Linked DNA regions of Homo sapiens: region 2 is linked to region 1. Evidence: promoter capture Hi-C in human tissues and cell types (Jung and others, 2019). All regions are on one chromosome and are shown on one strand. Each heading gives the region's core, a stretch centred on a gene start or on the middle of the fragment in contact. The rest is flanking DNA. Distances are from core to core; before and after follow the strand shown.

The links. The method cuts DNA at HindIII sites, captures the fragments that hold promoters and counts their contacts. A contact is called where the count stands out against the background at its distance.
Region 2: a contact is called between a fragment that was not itself captured here and the fragment with the promoter of CNTNAP4 in region 1, in 2 of the 25 tissues and cell types used here (dorsolateral prefrontal cortex and hippocampus).

Annotation. Positions count from the first base shown.
Region 1 is chr16:76,274,258-76,281,766 of GRCh38, reverse strand. CNTNAP4 (contactin associated protein family member 4) reads right to left here and starts at 4,366. Exons shown (of 24, transcript NM_033401.5): 1 at 4,020-4,366. The coding sequence starts at 4,104. The HindIII fragment of the contact is 9,673 bases long and covers 2,333-7,509 here.
Region 2 is chr16:76,383,554-76,391,062 of GRCh38, reverse strand. All of the region lies in intron 3 of CNTNAP4 (contactin associated protein family member 4), which reads right to left. Among named protein-coding and RNA genes, the nearest start is that of CNTNAP4, 110 kb to the right of the region's middle. The HindIII fragment of the contact is 5,146 bases long and covers 607-5,752 here.

The DNA.
Region 1 (7,509 bases), core at 3,117-5,616:
TACAAAAACAGTCACTACTAGCAGGTCAGATTCAGCCCATGGGCCACAGTTTACCAACCTGAGTTAAATATTTTATTATCTTATGATAGATGTTATATAATTCTATTAATCTATTTTCTTTAACAAAAGTCAATTTAATCTTGATATACTCATTAGCTCCAATACAGAAATTGCTTACATATGATATAAATTCCAAAATTAATTTTACAAGACAATAATCTTTATTTCCTAGAGTAAGCACCAGGTATTATGTGAAAGTTATGTTTGATCCCCATGTTGGCCCATGAGTCACGTTATCTCCAGAGCTAGAGGCTGCCTTTATCAGAGATTATTGAGATGCATGTAATAAGAAGTGGAGAAAATGGACTGAATAGATGAAAATAAATCACCATTGCTATTAGAAAAGTGAGTCAAAGTACGTGCTGATCTTTATAGGGGCTAGCCATTTATGCATTGCCTCATAGAATTATATTTTATCAGTACTTTACTATTGCATTCTAGTTATTTTCTGCTATAGGAGTAAATATGGTGGGGGGAGGAAAAGAAAGTAGCTTCTAGAAAGAATTACAAGGTTGAGTTTTAACAATGTGAGAATCTGTCCAGCTGTCTCCCAGGACCCACAAGAGTGATCATCTACTTAGGCAATTTGCCTTCATCTATCCTTCAGTGCTTCTTTTAGGGTAGGTATCAGATACGGCCTTTATTTCCATCAGAGAAAAGAAAGAACACAGTGAGATGTTAACTTCTAATTAAGTCATTGGGGAGCATTAATTATTCTCAAGAGTACGGCTCAGTATACCAGTAACTAGAGAGCCTCCCTCACATAATCTGCAAGAGTTAAAATAAAAGCAAACTCTTATCAGCCTTACTACTGTACCCATTCCTTCTTTTGGGGTAAGTTGACCCCATCTTCAACCATGTCTTAATGTTCAAAAACTGGATTTATAAGAGCTATTAAAAAATAGAGAAATGTCTCTGTTCTTAATGCATGTCTCTTAGTAGCAAGCAAAGAAACCAAGAACAGCCAGTGCAGCTTCTCAAAGAGCACACCCATCTGCAAGGATCCGTCTCTAAACTTTGATGGAAGGGACACTTCAATATAATTGTAAAAGCTCATCTTGATGAGAACAAAGAGAAAAAAATTATGGCTAGTCCACTGCTTTTGAAATGTCAGACAGGATACTAGTAGGCAGGGAGCGTGGTTCATTCAACATATTTCATCTTTAGACAGATAAGTACTTAACAGGGCCACCAAAAATATGCAAGCACATGAGTCTAGTAGTTTACAGATATCTACATACACATATACGTATATACAAATGAGCACGAGTCTAGTAGTTTAGATATCTACATACACATATACCTATATACAAATGAGCACATATACATATATGTGAACATATATGTTTGTCTTTGAACAGAATCCTTCTAATGTAAAGTTTCCCTGCTGTTTAATTGGATCAATTAACATTCAAATTAAAGTGCACCTAATCCCTGAGCTGTACTGGTTTTGCAGAGTTCTGTCCCATGAAAGCTTTCAAACTGGCAACCTTGGGCTGACTCTGTAGATGACAGATTTGCTCCTGGCTCATCAGCTGTAAATAAAGGGGAAAAGTCTTTCTAGTCCTTTAATTTTATTTATTTATATTCAGTTATTTCCAATATTACTATTGGTAGTCAAGACTGACTCACTTTTTCTTAATATAAAGTCTTGTCCAGAAGAATTATTGGAGTCATTATAATACTTTAGAAATGCATATGCTGGTTGATAGTTGCTTGTCCTTACACTAAATTCCAGTCTTGCTGGGAAATATATATACACTTGTCCTTCCAAAAAGGATGAAACATATGAAGTACTTTCCACCATGGCTTGGTACAAGTAGACCTTACTTCTTCCAAAAAGAAAATACTTCTTAAATATTGAAAAATGAAATAGAAATTGAGAAATGAAATATTTTCTTTTACACATACTGCTGCAAATCATATTGTCAAAATATTCACAATAAATTACTGAGTGCAACTTTAATTATATAAGGTCATTTCATTTTATTTTTGACACTTGAAGAACAGTCAACTCCACATGCATGGTAAGCAAGAACTCCAACTTTAAATGTTTTTTATAATGAAAAATCGTATAGGTTTTGCAAGTTCATCAGATGTTTAAAAGAGCATTAGACTACTTCCTTAACAAACCAAGGCTGAAAGAATATAGAACCAGCACTGAAATTTTAAGTGTCAGTGAGGGATCCAACCAGAGCCAAGCAGACATAAATATTACACTCTCCTCAGATCTCTTTCAGCACCTTTTCTTTTCTAAGAAGATATATGGCAAAAGAAAGCTATTTAATGTTGATGTACACCCTACACTTTTTATTGAGCTTCAAGAAAACAAGCAAACATAAACAACTAGCAGCCCAAATAATTAGATTAATGTATTTTAAACCCAACTACAGGCAGTCTAGTGGAAAGACTGAATGGAGTACAGGCCAGATTTAAGCTCTGCTTTTCTTGAGGGAAGGATGCTTGGGGTGATGTGCTTTACATTGTAAGAGTGACCTCTAGTGCTTTTCTTTTTGGTTGAACTTTAGTGGTTGGAAGATGAATTACTTATGCCTTTTCTACAGAACTTCCATTTGTGTGTGGGTGTTGTTGTTATTGTTTGCTTGTATGATGCAATGTTTTTCTAATGCTACCATTATAAGATTCCAAGGTTTTGACTAGGTGAAATTATACATTTTATTGACTTATGAGATTATCACAACACTCAAACTAAAGTTGAATCTGATGTGCAGCACCTGAAGTGAGGTTCCTTCTTTCAGAGTGATGGATACCCTGTGACATTAAATGAGCCCATTCTGAACTGAAACACGAAATCACGGGAGCCAGGTACTGTGAGGGGACATTTGACTTGTGCCCATGAGTTTGTCATGTTTTTCACATATCAGAACTCTTAACATAGTCAAGTGATATGCCATAGCAAATGTCTGATTACTGCCTCTGTTCCCCAAATCTAAGCCTGATGATACAGCAGCAACATAAATTCCTGGACAGGCCTCATAGCCAGTTCTTGGAAAGCAAATGAGCTTTTCCTTTAAAATCCAAGAAAAAATAAAAAGTTGTATTTGCCAAGCTTGTTTGTCATTAATCAGGAGGGGAAAATTCTCCCATTTAGAGAATTTAAGCCAAAGATAACTTTTAAAACTTTTTCTATCTCTAATAAAGAGTGGATGAAGGGAGTCTGCCAAATTATTATGGATGATATCTAAATTATAAATAAGATTTCAATCTTCCCTAAATAGGTTCTATTTCATCAGAACATTCAATTACAAATTTATGCAGTTAAGCATTCAACCACAAAGGAATCCTACTTTTGAAAGACCACCTGACTGGTTTTCCTTTAAGCGAAATGTAGGAAGAGGCTCCTCTTTCCGGAGAGCGCTAAGTCTCATTCTCTTAGCAGCGAGGGCACAGCTCTTAATACTGAGACTCGCCTCAGCCAGTGCTGGTGCTCCTGAAGCCTGCAGTACATTTCAGTTATTAGCCTGCATTATTTTAAAGATGCAGGCAGCTACTGGTCTGCCCAATTGCAAACTTCAGAAATCTAAGCCAATGCAGCATAATGTAAAGTCTGCCAGTTGTTTTCCTCTTAGACATAATTCCAATAAAATTCAGTAGTTCTTTAAAAAAGAAGAAATGAAGATATTCACAGGCTATTCCCCCGATAAGATGCTAATTTCATGTTTTACTAGAACTTGGGCATTCTCAATGAATACTCAAAGACCAGAGGGTAAGATTCTGCGAGTAGACAAAAAGAGAAATGACACTTTGCCTATTTTGACCAGACCAAGAGGAGAGACAAGTGTTAACCGGTCACATTGGCAAGATTTTTAAGTGATGCTTGGTTTACAGCAATACGCTTTGCAGCAATCCCAGCTGCAAATAATCATCATCAAACCAACAGAATCAAAGTTTTGCAGAGAGCCCCCCAGCAAGTTTTAAATCATTTGCTGTATACTTACAGGAATTCCCAGCTTCGACTCTGTTCCAATTTTGAGTAGATAACAGAAGTAGCGTCTTGAGGACAGCTCCCGTGACAGATCCCATGTTCACATTTATTGGGCTCCCCCAAAAGATCTTGAGAGGCTCTCAGAGCGCTCCAGTCCTCTTCTCAGTAGCTCTGCCAGCTCTGTCTGGGTCTTCAGCCCCTCTAGGTCTCTGTCTCTCCCCCTCCCTTCCTCCTCACCTCCCTCCGTCTTTTCTTCTTCCCTCCTCCCTCTCTTCTCTCTCCCTCTCTCTCTCCCCGTCTCTGTCTCTCTCTTTTCTCTCTCTCTCTCACACACACCTCCCTGACTCCTCACTGAAAAGCACTCAGCATCTTTCCTAACAAGCATCCACACCGCCGAGGCCACGCCCACTCCTCGCAGCAGCGGTCCCACAAATTGGCAGCAGCATCCTTCCTTCCAAACACACAACAGCGCTCGAGCTCCGCTGCACCCAGAGGCGCGGCCTCCCGTTCGTGGGCCTCCTTGGGGCTCCCTCCCTTCTCTTCTATTTTCCAATAATCCTTAACCCTTTTCTCCCAGCTGGAGGTGTGAGTGGGGGAAGGGACAAGGCGGTGGAGCCTTCTGATTTTCTGGAGGTCTTGCATTTGCAAGAGCCAGAAAACACACTGAGCCATTCCTGATTATCCGGGAGTGCATCCAGGTAAAATTGCATTATGTTTCAAAACAAAAGCATAAAATAAGACAGAAATAACTAAGCAGCATTGGGAAATTGTAGCTAAAACCGTCCTCAGGGAAAATACTTGCTGTTGTTTTTCTCTGTTTCTATAAAACTGTACTCTTCAGCGAGGGTGCCAGGATTTTATTATGGAAATTCCCCACATGGGAACAGACATTCCTGCTTAGCAGATATTTAAAATCATCTGGTAGTAGTCTGCAAGAAATTAACATTTCTTATTTTAATGCTTCAGGTGTATAAATCCACAAATGAAATGCTTTGGCTAGATTTATGTTGATGAATGCATCATGCTGTGAATATGAAGTACCATTCTATAATCAAAATTTTTAATAACATTTCCAAAAAGGCCCAAAGTAGGAAATGAGGGAATACTGAAGAAAGGGACCTCCACCACCACCACATACACACATGCATACACATTCACACAAACACTGAACAATGTGACGATGTAATTCAGGTGACTTAAAGGAGAGAGGAGTAAAGTTGAATTTGGAAGATCAATGATTAAAGAAAAATTACTCTTTGAATGGCTGGTCCATGGATACAACTGTTTCTTGAATGGAATTTTAAAATGTCTAAATAATGGAGTTACTATCACATAACAAGAAGCATGTCACATGGTTCATAGCAGATAAATAATCTATTTAAAATAAATGTCAAGATGTTTTACTGATAATGTGCTAGATTTTATACAAATGGAAATCCTGGAGTTCTTAAGTGCCTCTTGGTAATCACAAATTGGAAGAAACATAAGCCTTTAACACCACTTTCTTATGGAATAATGAGAGTGGGTTTGTCAAAGATCAGATAGGTTTGTCAAAGAGTGAGAAAATGACAGAAATACCCGTAAGAACTAAACATGCTTGTTTAGCTCATGCCTGCAAACAAAGCAGAATGCATCTTTTTTCTTTTCCTGTTTTACAAGAGAAAACAAGAACAGAGAATTTAAATGATTCGAAGAGGTCATAGAGTTAGTAATAAATGCTGAGGACTGGATTTGGCTTTTCTGACTCCAGTTTTACTGCTCTCACCCTAGGACTTATTGCCCCTAAATCAGAGTATACCTCCTTCCTGACCCTTGTCAGTGGCAGCAAAAACCTTAGGCCCTAGGAAAACACAGCAAACACTTTGGGAGGCCAAGGTGGGCAAATCACTTGAGGTCAGGAGTTCGAGACCAGCCTGGCCAACATGGTGAGATCCCATCTCTACTAAAAATAAAAAAAATAGCAGGGTGTGGTCGCAGGCAACTGTAATCCCAACTACTTGGGAGGCTGAGGCAGGAATTCGCTTGAACCCGGGAGGCAGAGGTTGCAGTGAACCAAGATTACACCACTGCACTCCAGCCTGGCCAATAGAGCGAGACTCTGTCTCAAAAAAAAAAAAAAAAAAAAAAAGGATAAATACAATAAAATAAAGAAAGGTCATGGGTTGAGTGTTTATTCTGTGTTCCTAGACTTGCATTCCTGATTTTATTTTTTCAATCATATGCTAAGTAAAAGCAGATATAAATTAACAGTTTATGTTAACTAATTATTGAAGGAGATTAAATTTTACTGAACACATACTATATGCCATTTGTTATCTAATTGAATAATTATATCAGTCCTTTGAAGAAAATATCATGTCTGTGGGACGGTTGTGGGCTCTCCAGAAGAAAAAAGTTGTCTCGTTGTTACAATATTGTATTTAATTGTTCTCTTAAAACAAATTAGAGAATGCATCTTAAATGGATAAGTACACATAGCAAAAATGAAAAATAAACATTTTATAACAATAATAACTTCTTTGGGACAATGTATAAATTATTATAGTGACCAATACTGGCGGATTTTTCCATATCAATGGGCTACAGTAATAGAAGGAATTGGGGGCTGGCCCTCAATAGAAGACCTGAGCATTTCAAGTCACTGCAAAACCTGTCTCTGCCTGATGGCTGCAGAGGGGTAGAGAGTTGCCTAGACAAATGAAACAGTGAGTGCTTGAGATATGGTAAACAGAGAGGCCTCAGCCGGGCGCGGTGGCCCACGCCTGTTATCCCAGCCCTTTTGGAGGCCGAAGCGGGCAGATCACGAGGTCAGGAGATCGAGACCATCCTGGCTAACATGGTGAAACCCCGTCTCTACTAAAAATACAAAAAATTAGCCAGGCATGGCGGCAGGCGCCTGTAGTCCCAGCTACGTGGGAGGCTGAGGCAGGAGAATGGCATGAACCCAGGAGGCGGAGCTTGCAGTGAGCTGAGATCGAGCCACTGCACTCCAGCCTGGGCGACAGAACAAGACTCTGACTCAAAAAAAAAAAAAAACAAAACAAAACAAAACAAAAAAACCAGAGCGGCCTTGATACAAGCTTCCACTGTTGTTTTGATTAAATGACTCAATGATGCTGACCTTTCGTTTATTTATTTTATGACCCGATAGGAGAATCATGACCAAAGAGTTACTGTGGTATAACATATGACAACTATTGAATGCCTTGTGCTTAGTGGGCCCTCACTTACTTCCCAGCTTTAGATCTCTGCATTAAAACTGTACAGAGAATTGGTCTAAGCAGGCAATGTCAGAGCTTGGCCACCCAGGTTCAGTGTCTGTACAGGTTCCACCACCCACTAGCTGCACGGCCTTGGGCAAGCTGCATCAGGATAATAATCCTTGATCCTTAATTTCCTCATCTGTGCACCAACGATGAGTACGGTATCAACCTCATGGTTAAGACAATGTCCTGTGAAATGAGCATGCCTAGGAGGCGCATGATCAATATTCCTTTTGTAAT
Region 2 (7,509 bases), core at 1,930-4,429, 110 kb before region 1:
AGTCAATAATAACTGTATATATTAAAGTAACTTAAAGATTGTAATTGGCTGGTCTGTGACTCAAAGGATAAGTGCTTGAGTGAATGGATACCCCATTCTCTATGATGTGCTTATTTCCCATTGCATGCCCATATCAAAACATCTCATGTACCCCATAAATATATACACCAATTATGTACCCACAAAAAATTTTTTAAAAAAGAAAAAAAACAGTTAATGAGAATTAAAAGAAATTCAAGACTTGAGGAGGGTAAAGTCCTATAGTGCAAACCCAGAAGTGCTTGAAAGATTCAAGTTAGCTAAGAGAGCCAAAGAGGACTAAGGATGAAATAAAAATCCTAGAATTGTTTCATAATAATAAGGGCAGGGACAACCTTGGTGAGTAAGCTACCTGTGAAGCCACATTCCAGGCTTTCAATTTGAATCAGTAATGCAATGATGAGAAGGAATAATGCCTGCTTAAAACAAGCAGGGCTTTTTTTTTTTTTACCTGTTATTTATGGGGCCAGAAGAGATAGCATTAAGTTGCAGTTCATGAACAGATTCCCTGGCTGTGAACGCCTGATGAGACAAGAAACACCAGCTTTTCTCAGAGGAAACAATTACATGTGGGGTTTTTAGGAGGAGACAAGTGTCCTGGCAAAAGGATATAGTCCAGACCCCAATCTTCTATGTATAGCCCAGCTCACACAGGCCTCTAAGGCAAGGATAAAGAAAAGAACTGAAGACTTCACCAGATTAGCTACAATAGATAAGTTACAATTAGTTACAATAGATAAGTTACTGTAGTAAGAGATGCCCACTCTTCACCATATACCTGAAGGTTTTGCCATTTTCAGAAACATCTTGCTGAAGTCCAGCATCCAGTAGTGCACAAGTTTACCTGACGGCTTTGTCCATCTCCCAGGGAGGAAGGCTAAGTCCTCATCCAGTGACTGCCTGGAGATGATGGATAAATACCCCAGCTCCCTTGCTCCTCTGATGGATACATTGAGACATGGCGAAGTATACTGGCTCCTAGAATTCCCCAGTGGGGCTAAGCTCCAGTTGCTCAAATTGCAAACCTTATTAACTACTTTCCCTTCTCTGTCTCACTTCCCTCCCCTCCTACTGTTATTTCTTGAAATTGCCTTCCAAATAAATAACTTGCACTCAAATTCTTGTCTCAGGTTCTGCTTCTAGAGGAACCCAAACTAAAACATGTGGGTTTTGGTAGCATATTAGAAAGAAGAATTAGAATATCTGAGGACAGAATAGGCCACTATTCTGAGATCGGGTTCCCATAAACACCACTGTTGGCTGGATGTGGTGGCTCACGCCCGTAATCCCAGCACTTTGGGAGGCTGAGTCAGGCAGATGAGGAATTCAGCACCGGGAGTTCAAGACCAGCCTGGACAACATGGCGAAACCCTGTTTCTACTAAAAAGAAAAAAGAAAAAAAAATAGTTGGGCTTGGTGGCACATTCCTGTAATCCCTGCTACTCCAGGTGCCGAGGCATGAGAATTGCTTGAACTCGGGATGAGGATGTTGCAGTGAGCTGAGATCACGTCACTGCACTCCAGCCTAGGCAAAAGAGGGAGATACTGTCTCAAACAAAAACAAAACAAAAAACGCAAAAACAAAAAAAACTAAACAGCACTGTCAAAGCGCTGAGTGGAAGAAGAGCCACAAGCAACGTTGCCAGAAATGCTGTCAGAAAGAATTCCATGACATTGATTTGACATTAGTTTCAGAGGCAGATACAAAACAGACTAAGATGCCTTAGTTGATACGTGTATACATGCCTGTGTATGAGTCAGGACACGTACTTAACATCTATATGAGACAAATGGAACCATTTGCATTGCCTGAGCACACATACAGAAAGCTTGTTCTGCTCATCATGCTGGGGACTAATTTCCTAACATTTGAGTTTCTCTAACATATAGCAATATTCATTTTCCTTATTTCCTACAGTGACAATATATTTACACATACTTATACTCTATTATATACTAGACAGTGTTCTTTATATTATAATGACATAAGGTTTTGGCTTAGTCATATATAACATTAATTATAAATGTACATGTAAGTTTTTCTCCTTTTTTAAAGAATTACTTTCCTTTTCTCTAGAATTACTATAAGGACATAGAACTCCTTGTTAAATATTATAATTTAAAGCACACAAAGAACAATTCTACAATGGAAGCAGAGCATGTTGGGACAGACTTGTACTTTGGAGTCAGGTACTGCCTTAATTATATGACCTACAAAAGTCTCTGATTCCCATTTCCTTGTATGTAAAATATCAATAAATAACATTTCCATCATTTAGATTTACATAAGAAATATCTAGATGCATCTAAAATGTCTAGAACATTTCCTAGCATAGACAGGCAATAAATCAATAGATGTATATGTGTTTATAACAGGAATTACTATTATATATCAGACATTATGCATAAAATATTATTACAAATCACAGTATTACAGGAGATGACTTTTAGATAGCTTAAGTTTTGTTTGTTTACTTTGTGTGCATTTTACCTTGTGTGAATTGACTGATACATTAAAGAAAACACTAGAAATCCATATCAATGTTTCCTTCATTTGTTTCAAATCCATTTACTCAATATTCTACACAATGCTCATTTTCAAAGGTTTCAAAACCACTTCATTACTGCCTCAAGTAAGAAAGAATGGTATTTTGCTGTGTGGAGAAAAGTTGTTTTTTATTTGTTTGTTTTTCATTTTGATTATGGTACCAATGTTTGAAAAACACTGACTTCCTCTGAGAGTGAATTCCTGGCACTCCACGATGCTGCTGCCTTTCTGAGGATGGATGAAATGAACAGCAGTGCTGTAATGAACTCTTTGGGTAAATGTCCCAGTAATGTCTCTGACACCACAAGATGCTGATCTGGCTAAATCCACAAAGTAGGAACTTGTAAAGTAATCACAACCCACCCACACTTAAGGGTGATTTTCATGTATTCTCTCAAGTCAGTGACTGATGGTAAAATACAAAACCCTTGAGTATGGGGCAAAATAGACTGGCAAGCACCCGTTAATGACAAATATTTACATAGTATTGGGTTTCAGCAGACATTAATACTTTTTAAAAAATAAAATATTTTCAACCAGTCTAGAAAACAAAAGAGGGGAATAGATCCCTTCTGTGTTTGCATTATAATAACAATGGCATCCTCAAAAATAACGGCAATCACTTTACATTTATTGAGCACAGCCTATATACTAGGAAGTAAAATAAGTATTCTATATCATCTTATTTCTTATGACAACATAACCACCCTTATTTAAACCACTATTAAATCATGTTGACTGACAATATGCAATTAATATTTTGTCCATGTTCAATGGTTTTTAAAACAACATTAATTTTCATTTCTTCTTTGCTGATTATTTCATGAGCATTAATTCTGAAGTTTCAGAGGGCAATTGCTTTTTTGGAGTACTGTAATATTGATCTTACCATATTTTATCACAAAGCCTGATTATAAACATTTTATAAATACCAAGCTATTACTTAGTACATGATTTAAAATATATAAAGCACTAATTTATCTTGCACTCAAAAATGACAAAATAATGAGAGAAAATCAATTATTTTAGCCCTAAAGCAAGAGAGACTATTGGTTGCAAAAGATTTACAAAATCAGTCAATCAGTTTTATGAATAGCTGCCAAATTATATAATGAGATTTGAGAACTGAGAATGAGCTTCTCTCAAAATATCAGTTCCAGTCCTCACCATAATGTTTGACATTAACATATAAATATTCATTGCTGTGTGTCCTAATGGATTTTCAAATTTGTGATATCACTTATCGGACTATAAATGTCATGTGGTAGGTGTATCAATTTTCTCAGGCATGGAGTGTACCAAATTGCCAAAAATTTGTGGGTAAAAACAACACAAACTTATTATCTTACAGTTCTGTGGTCCAAAAATCTGACACAGGTTTCACTGGGCTGAAATCAAGATGTCAGCAGGATGCATGCTTTTTTTGGAGGCTTTATGAGACAATTCATTTCCTTGTCCTTTCCAGCTTGCAGAGGTTGCACAAATTCCTTGGCTTATGGCTCCCTTCCTCTATCTTCAAAGCCAACAAAAGCAAGTTGAGTCATTCACAGATTGCATAACTCTATTCTCCTTCCACAGCCTCCTCTCCCTCTGAATCTCCTTTTAGGCCTCCTTTGACTTTTAAGGCCCTTGGTGATTACACTGGGCCCACCTGTGTAATCCAGGGTAATCTTACTATGATCATCTGATTAACAACCTAAAATCCATCTACAATCCCAATATGCCTTTTTTATAGAGATATCATACCTATAGGTCCCAACGTTAAGGTAGTGAACATCTTTGGAAGGCCATTCTACTCACCATGGTGGGATATATATTACTGATGACATGAATTCACTTATTGTGCCTAAGTATCTCCTGAGTACCTACTATGTTTCTAGCACCAGGTTAGGCTCTGGAAAATTAACGTAAATAAGACAGTAATCAGCTGTACTTATCACACAGCTCTCACTGCTCTAAATAAATCTGGGAAAGTCTGGAGTAAGCATAAAGGCAATTCAACAAAATGCATGATTCTTATCTTTGGAAGCTTGCATTTTAAATTTTGGTCTTATTAACCCCAAACTGAGAGCAAGCAAATCAAATTTTTTTAAAAAATGTGTACCACTGAGAAGGCAAAGGGCAGTTTCCAATTTTAAAAAATTGCTCATTTTACTATTTTGCCCGAGGCTAGTTTTTATAAACAGATTATAAAAGACGTGGCAAGAATATAATAGAGCTATACTATACCCATATGGTATTTTTTAGGCAAATAGTAAATTACAGTTCTTTCTCATTATTCATAGATACTGTATTGTGAATTTGCCTACTAGCTAAGATTTATTTTTAACCCCAAATCAAAGCTTTATGTGCTTCAGTGGTCATTTGTGAATGTGCCCACAGCAGTGAAGACTCTGGGCTGCCCAACGTACCTGCTTCCAACTGAGTTCAAACAAGGTGGCACTCTGCCTTCCTGTTTCAGCTACAATACTGTAAACAAGTGTTTTTTTTCATTATCTATTCATTTTTCACATTTTTGTGCATTTTTTGGTGATTTCCCTGTTTAAAATGGGCCCCAAACGTAGAGCTGAAATACTGCCTTATGTTCCTAAGTACAAGAAAGCTGCCATGCACCTTACGGAGAAAATATGTGTTAGGGAAGCTTCATTCAGTCATGAGTTATAGTGCTGTTGGCCATGAGCTCAATATTAATAAATCAGCACTACAGACTATATAAGGTGTCTTTAAACAGAAACATACGTAAAACAAGGTTACGTATTGATGGGTGGACAAAAATATTGCAGTCAGAGGCTCACGGGACTCTAATTGTGTATTTACCCACTACTCTCTAATTCAGTGTTCACAGGAACTTTATAGAACATAATTTCCACGCATAATGAGAATCAACTCACTCTCTCTACACACACACACACACACACACACACACACTTCTAATTAAAGTGTTAATTTTTGTATAAATATGAGAAAAGACTGAAAGGAAACATTGCTATATATAAATAATTTTTGCATGAAGAAAAATTACAGTTGTTTCTATTTTTATATTTTCTCTGTATTTTTCAGGTTTGAATTTATAATCAAAATTGCTAAAATAAAAAAACAAGGTATTTTTATCCTATCTTAAAAACAATCTCTAGTCCCTCCTAAGGCAGTCCCTGTGAGATGACATAGCATAGCAATGGTTCAGTATTTGATAATTCATTGTCCATGGAAACTTTATAAAACATAACTGTCAGGGAAAGTGAGAATCAGCTGTACTTATCACATAGCTCTTGCTGCTCTAAATAAATCTGGGAAAAATCTGGAGTAAGCATCAAGGCAAATCAACAAAATGCGTTATATTGTTTAAAAAAAGGATCTTTAAATATTTATAATTATGCTCCTGTCATGTAAACTGTTTCATACTTTATAAGTTGCACCTGTCAGGTGTCAGAATAATTCATATGTATATCTTCACTATATTTATACCTTAGGCTATTTTCCTTCAAAAAATGTTGCAACCGGTTGAATGCTGACTGTAAATTAACTCATTGATTTTTTAAAAAATTTAAATACTTCACATTTGGCTCATGTATTGAAAAATATGATTTCCCTGTTGTTCTTACTTTCTAATTTTACCTTATATTAGGTATTTTGGGGAAATAAAACAACAGAGCTATAAATATGGATAATTAACTGTAGTAAAATAAAAGCTTATTTGAAAATGTGTTATATATGCTTGTAAAATTAATTCTTAAAGCCTGGCTATATGACAACTGGTGATTTCGAGGTCATGATGAAGCATGACTAATAACAAGGCCACTTCCAATCGCCTACCATGACTGTTCCTGAGAGAGGAGCGCGGAATCTCCTAAGGTAGGTACCAAGGAGATTAATCAACTCATCAGTGCCTCTCCATCCCACACTCTCCAAGTGCGGGAGAATGAAAAGCAAGTCAGTCACAACCAAAGCTACATGGCACTTTATCAGAGCTGGCTGAATCCTCGCTTGGGTGTGGGTGGCCTCCTTTCATCCCTTACTGAGGCAACCAACTTCGCATTCTTCTTGATCCTTTATTCAGCTTGGTCCTCATGGTGCTCATTACTGCCAGCCTTAACTTATTACAAGTAAAGTTGTATTGTATAAGACTGGGAACTTGGCTGGGCGCGGTGGCTCAAGCCTGTAATCCCAGCACTTTGGGAGGCCGAGGTGGGTGGATCACAAGGTCAGGATTTCAAGACCAACCTGACCAACATAGTGAAACCTCATCTCCACCAGAAATACAAAAATTAGCCAGGCATGGTGGTGCATGCCTGTAATCCCAGCTACTCAGGAGGCTGAGGCAGGAGAATCACTTGAACCTGGGAGGCGGAGGTTGCAGCGAGCCAAGATAGTGCCACTGCACTCCAGCCTGGGCAACAGGGCGAGACTCCATCTCAAAAAAATAAATAAATAAATAACAAAAAACAAAACAAACAAACAAAAACAAAAAACAAAACAAAAAACTGAGAACTTTACTAAAAATTTAAAGAGGAGAAAACATTTATCTGTCATTAACATTTTTATTATGGACATTTTCAAACATAGAACCAAGTAGAGAGAACAGAATTTAAAACTCACACACATCTACCTTCAGAGACGAACTCAGGACCAATTTTATTTCGCCTACACCCATGTCCCCTCCAAGTTTATCATCTTTACAACTCGATTATTTTAAATTCAGTCCCAGACATCATATTATTTCATGCGTAAATATCTCAAAGTGTATCTTTAAAGAATGAGAATTCCTTATAAAACAAAAACACAATTGTCACATCTAAAATTTCACAATAGTTCTGTATTATCAGCATCCTGTGTGGACTGCTTATCTCTTAAAAGTATATGTGCATATAAGTGTATGCAATATTGTTTAAATCGGGATATCAAAATTTTACATGTGTTGCATT